3 separate regions of the Homo sapiens genome follow, and all the other regions are linked to region 3. The links are contacts of gene promoters, found by promoter capture Hi-C in blood cells and fetal thymus (Javierre and others, 2016). All regions are on one chromosome and are shown on one strand. The core of a region is centred on a gene start or on the middle of the fragment in contact, and the rest is flanking DNA. Distances in the headings are between cores, read along the strand shown.

Evidence for each region. The method cuts DNA at HindIII sites, captures the fragments that hold promoters and counts their contacts. A CHiCAGO score of 5 or more calls a contact.
Region 1: a contact is called between the fragment with the promoter of TMT1B here and a fragment that was not itself captured in region 3, in 4 of 17 cell types (monocytes, neutrophils, erythroblasts and 1 more). The highest score is 7.3, in monocytes.
Region 2: the fragment with the promoter of OR6C70 here is called in contact with a fragment that was not itself captured in region 3 in 2 of 17 cell types (M1 macrophages and M2 macrophages); the score reaches 5.2 in M1 macrophages.

What each region holds. Positions count from the first base shown.
Region 1 is chr12:55,680,479-55,683,693 of GRCh38, reverse strand. TMT1B (thiol methyltransferase 1B) reads right to left here and starts at 1,958. Exons shown (of 2, transcript NM_152637.3): 1 at 1,442-1,958. The coding sequence starts at 1,939. RefSeq lists an enhancer at 1,624-2,299. The HindIII fragment of the contact is 9,637 bases long and covers 1-3,215 here.
Region 2 is chr12:55,468,356-55,471,461 of GRCh38, reverse strand. OR6C70 (olfactory receptor family 6 subfamily C member 70) reads left to right here and starts at 1,324. Exons shown (of 1, transcript NM_001005499.1): 1 at 1,324-2,262. The coding sequence starts at 1,324. The coding sequence ends at 2,262. The HindIII fragment of the contact is 2,936 bases long and covers 18-2,953 here.
Region 3 is chr12:55,191,807-55,194,866 of GRCh38, reverse strand. It overlaps the pseudogene OR10U1P. Among named protein-coding and RNA genes, the nearest start is that of OR10A7, 28 kb to the left of the region's middle. The HindIII fragment of the contact is 1,218 bases long and covers 776-1,993 here.

The sequences.
Region 1 (3,215 bases), core at 709-3,208, 490 kb before region 3:
AGCAAACTGTCGTGCCCCTGACCTTTTCTGCATCCCCTGCTACCGCCTTCAAAGTGCATGTGAAGAACCTCATAACTGAAAGGAGTGGCTGGTGGGAGATCTTTAAAGCCTGACCAGAATAACCGAGGGCATGCAGAAGGGGAAACTGAGAAACAGGAGTGGAGGGCTCATTGTATTATTATTATTATTATTATTTTTTGAGACAGAGTCTCAGTCTGTTGCTCAGGCTGGAGTGCAATGGCGTGATCTCGGCGCACTGCAACCTCCACCTCTCAGGTTCAAGCGATTCTCCTGCCTCAGCCTCCCAAGTAGCTGGGATTACAGGCATGAGCCACCACGCCCGGCTACTTTTTGTATTTTTCAGTAGAGACAGGGTTTCACCATGTTGGCCAGTCTGGTTTCAAACTCCTGGCCTCAAGAGATCCACCTGCCTTGCCTCCCAAAGTGCTGGATTACAGGCGTGAGCCACCTCGCCCAGCTGGGCTTATTGTATTCTGAGATACACGCACAACCTCTCTCACAAAACCCAGATGCATGCACAAGCTGCTTCCTGGACATCGCTGTGAACATCCCAGGGAAACCTCAGGCCCAACTCTTGACTGAAGCTGGGGTTCCTCAAGCTCCTCGCCTCACTATACTCTCCCTAGGTGATCTCAAACCTAGTAAGTCCAAAACAGCTTTCTTCCATCTCAGCAAATGGCACTTTTCATCAGCTCTCCCCTCAGTTGCTCATGCTAGAAACCTGGAAACTATTCTGAACGTTCTCTCCACAGTCTGATGGATTCTACTCTACTTCCCCTACTATCTTTACCTAGAACACTCTTTTATTTTCCCCACCCCGTCCACACTCTGCTTAATCCCTCAGATCTCTCTCTCTCTCTCTCTTTTTATTTATTTATTTATTTTTTTTGATACAGGGTCTCACTCTGTGGCCCAGGCTGGAGTGCAGTGGTGCGATCATAGTTCACTGTAACTTTGAACTCGGGCTCAAGTGATCCTCCCACCTCAGCTTCCTGAGTAGCTAGGACTATAGGCATGTGCCACCACGCCTGGCTAGCTTTTGTATTTTTTTTTTTTTTTTTTTTTGTAGAGACGGCATCTCACTATGTTGCCTTGGCTGGTCTTGAACTCCTGGGCTCAAGTCATCCTTCTGCTTCAGCCTCCCAAGCACAGATCTCGATTTAAACCTCAGTTCCTTAGGTGTCCTCCCCACTCCCCTCCCTGTCCCATGGTGGTAGGTGATCCTCCTGTTGCTTCCACAGCACCCAATTGTGCCCCGTCATGGCACTGGTCATGTCTCCTATTCACCAGCAGGTAGAGGTGGATGGGGTGTCTAATGTGCTACTTACTACCTCAGACGCCCCATTCTGGGGGCCGAACCCTGGGGCGGCTGATGCTGCGTTTGCCTGCCCCACACCCATCCCCTTCCCACCCTGCTTACCGGTCTCAGTACTCTCCGGACCTCCTGCAGGACCTTCCTTGGGCTCTGCACAGAGCACAGCACCAGAGTGCAGACCACCACATCCATGGAGCCATCAGCCAGCTGTCTCATGTCCTCTCCAGGAGCCACCACAAACCGCTCATATTGGAGGTGCCTGTTCTCAGCCATGCTCTTTGTCAGGAACTTCTCAAAGTGGGGATTTGGGTCTAGGCAGGTGACCCTGCAGCCCGGTGGGTAGAACTGAAAGTTGGCTCCGGTTCCGCAGCCCAGCTCCAGTAGGGCCACTTTCCCGGAGGCTCCTGTAAGCCCCTTTATCTGGCTGAAGAGCTCCCGTTTCTTGCTCTCCATCTTGCGGTTGCTCTTGGGAGTCAGCACGGCCATCAGGTAGGGGAAGTAGCTTTTGCACAGGGGCTGCCAGCAGCCCAGCAGAGCCATGAGGTGCAGGGGCAGGGTAAGAAGCAGCACCAGCAGCTGCAGGAGTGGGACCAGGATGTCCATGGCAGACCAGCTCTGAGCTGTGCTTCCGCTGGGGCACTGGCTTTTTCCCTGCTCAGCCTCTGCAGGCGCTGGCGTCCCCTCCCGCTGTGATAGGACTTTGCTCCTTGTCTCCTACTTGACAATTTCCTATTTGCCAGAGTTGAGTGGGTGTATGGAATTCCTCCAGAGGGCGCAGGTCCCACAGCCCCACAAGCTCTTCAATGACTTTTATGTGGGCGGAGGGACAGGTGGTACCCATGTTCCTGAGTTCTGGGGCACTGTGCCCAGCTGAAGGGGGGCAGGGGCTGCTGAGTCATCTCAGAGGGAGTGGGAAGGGGTAAGGGGATATGTTTCAGATGACAGACTCATGGCGGGGGAGTGTCGGGGGCTGGCAGGGCGTTGGGGGTGGGTTGGTAGTGGTGAATGCTGGGGACAGAGTTGACTCATGGGACATATCCTGGCCTCATTTCGTCCTCAGGTCAGGCACTTCAGAGGGGCCATAGGAAGGGAAGGGTGCTCTTGGCAGAGGAAAAAGTAGGTGTACAGGACAGAGACAGCATGCCCTCTCCTGGAAAGGGTGAGAAGTTTAGTTCTGTGGGGAATGGGGTAAGTTGGACAAATAGGGGGAAGTGAGGTCAGAGAATAGCCACTTTTTAGAGATCCTTCCCTCCCTCCCTCCCTTCCTCCCTTCTTTCCTTCTTTCCTTTTTTTGAGACAGGGTCTCTGCTGCCCAGGCTGGGGTGCAGTGGCAGCAGTCTGGGCTCACTGCAACCTCAATGTCCCTAGGCTCAAGTGATCCTCTTACACCAGCCTCCTGATTTTCTGGGACTACAAGTGCATACCACCATGCCCAGCAATTTTTTTTTTTCTGTAATTTGTAGAGACAGGGTTTCACCCTGTTGCCCAGGTTGGTCTTGAACTCCTGGGCTCAGGTGATCCACCCACCTCGACTTCCCAAAGTGCTGGGATTACAGTTGGGAGCCACTGCGCCTGGCTGAGAAGAATTCTTTTTACAAAACATTATTAAACAACTTTTTTTGGAAGAGGCAGTACATTCACTTAGTACAAAATTAAAAAGATACTAAAGAGATTACAGGGAAAATTCTCTCTTCTACTCCTGTGACCCAACCACTCAGATCTCCTCTCTGGAGGCACTAAATGCCATATTGCCAATTTCTTGTGAATCCTTCCAGAGATGACCTGTGAACGAGCAGGGAACACACACACCACGTGTTTAGATCCATGTACATATATACATATACATATTCCCTTTTCTTTTACAAATAGTAGTATATTG
Region 2 (3,106 bases), core at 75-2,574, 280 kb before region 3:
TAAACAATAAAGAAGCTTCCCAAACTTTAACCCTGAGAGTGGATTGCCTTTTTTCTCAGTAGCCATTGATAAGTTATTTCTCAGATCCTTAGCTGGATTTTAAGTCCACTTTCTAATTCCTAGCAGTCTGTCACCTTTGCTTTACTTCTGTACTATTACTCACTTCACTTTTTTCATTGGCAACCTGATACTCTGGGAAACCTACAATAACAAACTTAAAATACCATCAGAATCCTTTTGTCCCATTCAAATGATTACACCCTTCCTACCCCATTATTTCCCTAAATTAATAGTCGTTGGTTACCTGCATGAATAATTGTTGGGGACTCAGATAGTGTGGCAAGAAAGCACTGATTTTTCACTCACAGTATTACATCTAGAAAGTAGGTTTAGACTGTAGGTACCTGTAACTGTAGCGACTTGGAAGAGATGCAATGTTTTATCTGTTTTCTTTCTTACTCCTATGGTCTTGATTACACAAGACAAAATTTTTAAGTCCTAAATAGACTTTTTTTTTGTAAATGTGGCAATATATGCATAATATTAAGTTTTGAGTTTCCTAGATTCAACTAGTATTTATTTTGTTGTGGTATCAACTCATACTTTTTAGGGGCATTTTTCCGTATCTTCATATGTAGTTCATAGAGAAGTTGAAAAAGGCTGTATAGCAGGGCTTTAAACAAATGTCACTTTAATATAATATAATGTAAAGTTTCAAAATTTGACTGTAGGTCTTTTAATTCTTAACAAAAAAGACAGGGTCTCTCTCTGTCACCCAAGCTGGCATCTCCCTATGTTGCTCACGCTGATCTTCAACTCCTGGCCCCAGGCGATCCCCAGTTTGGCCTCCCAAGTGCTGGGATTACAGGCATGAGTCACTGTGCCTTCCCTTAACTTAGGTCTTAATTCATTACACTGGCATCATTTTCTTTAGATGAAATTAATAATTTTAAAATGAATGAACTATTTTTGAATCCTGAACCAAGATCTTTACCTAATTTATTTACAACTTGACAAACCTGGAATTAGTTACAATTAAGTGGAATCTTGAAGTGGAAGCATGAAAAAAACTAGCTTGAAAATCAACTATTAAGGGCTTTGCAAATCAATTTTCCAAAGTGAGATGATGTTTGTTGTACTTTTAAACCCCTAGTTTACAATTTCTGTTGCATAGTTCTATATCATATCTTCAACATCCATGGAGTACTACCTCTTAAATGTATATGTTTGTAAGTGTGGAAACTTTCCTGTATCTTTTCCTGGACCTAGCTCAACCCTTGCACCTTTTTATTCCTAGAATTTGATTGAAATCACAACAGAGAAATGAAGAATCATACAAGGCAGATAGAATTTATTCTTCTGGGACTGACGGATAATTCTCAGTTACAGATTGTAATTTTCTTATTTCTACTTCTAAATTGTGTGTTGAGCATGATAGGGAACTTCACTATCATTGCCCTCATTCTGCTGGATTCCCAGCTCAAGACTCCAATGTATTTCTTCCTCCGTAATTTCTCTTTTCTGGAAATTTCATTCACAACTGCTTGCATTCCCAGATTCCTAATCACCATTGTTACCAGGGAAAAGACCATTTCCTGTAATGGTTGCATATCTCAGTTGTTTTTTTACATATTCTTGGGGGTTACAGAATTTTTCCTTCTAGCTGCTCTGTCCTATGATCGCTATGTTGCCATCTGCAAACCTTTGCGTTATATGTCCATCATGAGTAACAAAGTTTGCTACCAGCTTGTATTCAGTTCTTGGGTAACTGGATTCCTGATCATTTTCACTCCACTGATTTTAGGTCTTAACTTGGATTTCTGTGCTTCAAATATCATTGATCATTTCATTTGTGACATTTCTCTTATCCTACAACTTTCTTGCTCAGACACACATTTACTGGAACTGATTGCCTTTTTATTAGCTGTGATGACACTTATTGTCACATTGTTTTTAGTAATCCTTTCTTACTCTTACATCATCAAGACAATTCTGAAATTCCCTTCAGCTCAGCAAAAGAAGAAAGCCTTTTCCACCTGCTCTTCTCACATGATTGTTGTCTCCATCACTTATGGTAGTTGTATGTTTATCTACATAAAGCCATCAGCGAATGAAAGAGTTGCTTTAAGCAAAGGAGTAACTGTGCTCAATACTTCAGTTGCCCCGTTGTTAAACCCATTTATTTATACTCTGAGGAATCAGCAAGTTAAACAAGCCTTCAAAGCTGTATTTAGAAAGATATTTTCTGCTTCAGACAAGTAATACAACTTGTTGAAATAATTAACATGAAAACATAAAAGGATCTTTGAACAAAACACTAATTTGACTCTTCTAGTTTAAGAATTGATACCCAATATTCAATTATTTGTATGACTTTAGCTTGTCCAACAATCAGAACGTTTTTCATTCTATCCATTCTGACTTTAATTTTCTCTTTTTCAGTATTCAAACCTTTCTGTATTAGAAAGAAAACAATTGCAAAATTGATTTTCTCTAAAAGCATGTTAGAATAAAATAAATGAGTGGTTTTCAGTGATTATAGAATATAAGTTCTTCAAGAGTTTGATCTAAATAATTTATAAAAATTAAAAAATTATTTAAGAAAATTTGCGGGTACATAGTAGGTGTATAAATTTATGGGGTATATGAGATGTTTTGATACAGGCATTCAATGTGAAACAAATGCATCATGGAGAATGGTGTACCCATCCCCTCAAGTACTTATCCTTTGAGTTACAAGCAATCCTATTACATTTTTAAAGTTATTTAAAAATATACAATTTAGTTATTATCGACTGTAGTCTCCCTGTTGTGCTATTAAATAGTAGATCTTATGCTAAGTAATTTAAAGAAATGTACCTTGTTTTAGTTAAATGCCATGTTCTTTAAAAGTCTTAGATAAATCAAATATTGTCATTGTTAAAAAATATATTTAAAATGTTTCAAGAAAGCTTACTCCTTAAAAATAATGTAGAAAATTATTTTGTAAAGTGAACTTTTCGAACTGTCAATTGTCAACACAGAAAAGCGTAATTTCCTTTGAAGGGAATCATACATTTCATGTATGTGATATTTATTATTTATGTTGGACAGATTTTAGAAATTG
Region 3 (3,060 bases), core at 135-2,634:
TGTTAGGTGACTGCATTCCCATTAACCTGCCTTCTTTGTTGTCTGCACAGATGTTTAGCTCTGAGCCCACCATAGATGGAAATCAGTCCCTGTGTGCCAAATTCACATTTGTGGCTTTTTCTTCTATAGAAGAATTACAGCTTGTACTCTTCATTGTGTTCTTAATCATCACTTATGCACTATAGGAGGAAATATCATCATCATCTCCCTGATCTGGATCACCCCTGCCCTGCACACTCCAATGTATTTCTTCCTGGTGAACCTCTCATTTCTGGAGATGTGCTATACCACCAGTGTGGTGCCTCATGCTGGTGCACCTGCTGGTGGAGACCAAAACCATAAGTGTGGGTGGCTGTGCAACCCAGATGTACATATTTGCCATCTTGGGACTGACAGAATGCTGCTTGCTAGCAGCTATGGCTTACGATCGCTTTGTAGCTATTTGTTACCCACTGCATTACACTCTCTTCATGGGCCCTCGTGTTTGTTTGAAATTGGCTGCAGCATCTTGGTTCACTGGAGTGGTGGTGGAGTCAGCCCAGATCACCCTGATCTTCACTTTGCCTTTCTGTGGAACAGGAAAGATTCAACACTTTTTTGTGACATAATGCCTGTACTGAAACTGGCTTGTATTGATACCTCCCAAATTGAAATTGTGATGTTTTCTCTCTCCGTGCTATTTATTGTGAGTCCTTGTTTCCTCATTCTGTGCTCCCACATGCACATCCCTGTGACCATCTTGAGAATCCCTTCAGCAGCTGGAAGACACAAAGCTTTCTCCACTTGTTCTTCTCATATCTTGGTTGTTTCTCTGTTCTATGGCACTGCCTTGTTCACTTATCTGCAACCTAAGACTGCACACACTCCAGAAACAGACAAAGCAACTGCACTCATGTACACAATGGTCACACCTGCTTTGAATCCTGTTATCTATACCTTGAGGAACAAGGAAGTAAAGGAAGCCTTTCAAAGGATAACCCAAAGGAACTCTCTTAGACAAACGGCCTAAACCAGTCATAGTAGCTGAAACCTATGCTACTGTACAGAGAGGTTACCCGATTTTATGATTCTTCTACCAACATATTCTTTTATTAAAGCATTTATAGCCTAGCTACCAAAAAACATTTGGATTTGTCACACATTTTTCAATGTCTGTAAGTAAAAGGAAACTACACAGTAGATTCATTCAATTGTTAATCATTCATTCATTCAACAGTATTTACAGGGCATCTCATGTGTCAAGCTACCATTTTCTCCTTCTCCAGTGGTAATAGCATTAAGTCCAGTATGTTTCATGCCATTTTCCTGAGGAAAATGAAATATCCTTTATGAGTATAAAACAAAAAATGAAATAAACAGGAAGTAATACTATTTTAGTATCAAATATAGTCTATTAGAATTTAAGTTCTTAATTGGAGTATGCTCCTTTAATTAGTGTGCTCTCTGTACATCTTAAGGTCATACATATTAAATAACCAACTGTTAATAAATACTAATGAGTGGTGTACACCATGAAAGAACTTTAAATATTTAGTTTGTAAATCCAGTGAGAGACCTGAATTCTTTATCTGAAACATGAGTTTTCCTTTGCTCTTATCCACCTGTTTTTTGTTGGTTTGTTTATTTGTTTTTCATGTGAGTAAAGACTTAGGGAAATGTCTGCCTTTGAGACATACAATCTTATTACACCTATTGTAAACCCTGTTTAAATGTATTGATTTAAATATAATTTTCTTTTGTCACGGTGTATATATTCTAGCTAATATATATTGTTTTTGTCTCTTTGAATAATAAAAAGCAAGTCTTCTATAAGACACTAAAACAAAGAACTTTAAAAAACTGTTGGTTTCTTATGGCAACTTTAGAGAAGTTGACAAAAATGTAAATGTTCAGAGACATTTTGTCAACCTGAAAGTTTTTTGATTTTATCTTAGTGTTGATACTCTAGAGTCAAACTCTAATACAAGTGCAATTAATTTATTTGAAAGAAGCTTGGAAGTGGGAAAACGATACACATGAGTTAAGAAAAACAGTGTGTCCATTATTATGTCAGGTTCCATAAATAACCACTAAAATTTAATCTTGTGAAGGAAATAGGAGAAGAGGTTTTGGGTATAGACTACAAGGGGAGCAACGGCAATATAGCTGGCCCCTTTCTGAAGAGGTTCTCAACACTGAAGTAAGGTAGACTTAACAGTGCTGCAAGAAAATGATGCATATTATCATTGGGAAACCTAATAGCTTTTGTGGAATAACATGCAATCATATTGACAGAACTGCATTGTTAACTACATATTATCACTGTCTGGGACTCACTCAGTAAAGAAATGTGCCCTTTTCTCTCCCTCATTCATGACATATCAATTCACAGGAGAATATAAGGTCTAAAAACATTTGGCATTGCCTGAGTTTTGAATTAAATGAGATTGAAAATTTTTAAATTCTCTCAATTTTAATAACTAATAGATATCTGAAGGTTATAAAATTGACAGAGACAAAGCATTAAAAGGGGGAATTAAAAGAGCAATATTACACCTACAATCATCTGATCTTTCACAAAATGAACAAAAAGAAGCAATGGGGAAAAGATTCCCTGTTCAATAAATGGTGCAGGGATAACTGGCTAGCCCTATGCAGAAGATTGAAACTGGACCCCTTCCTTAAGCCATATATAAAAATTAACTCAAGATGGATTAAAGACTTAAATGTAAAACCCAAAACTATAAAAACCTTGGAAGACAACCTAGGCAATACCATTCAGGACTTAAGCACGGGCAAACATTTCATGACAAAGATGACAAAAGCAATTGCAACAAAAGAAAAAATTGACAAATGGGATCTAAATAAACTAAAGAGCTTCTGCACAGTAAAAGAAACTCAACAGAGTAAACAGACAACCTACAGAATTGGAGAAAACTTTTCAAAATATGCATCTGAAAAAGGTCTAATATCCAGAATCTGTGAGAACTTAAACAAATTTATAAGAAAAAAAAACGAACAACCCTATTAAAAAGTGGGCAAAGGACATGAACAGACACTTCTCAAAAGAAGACATACATG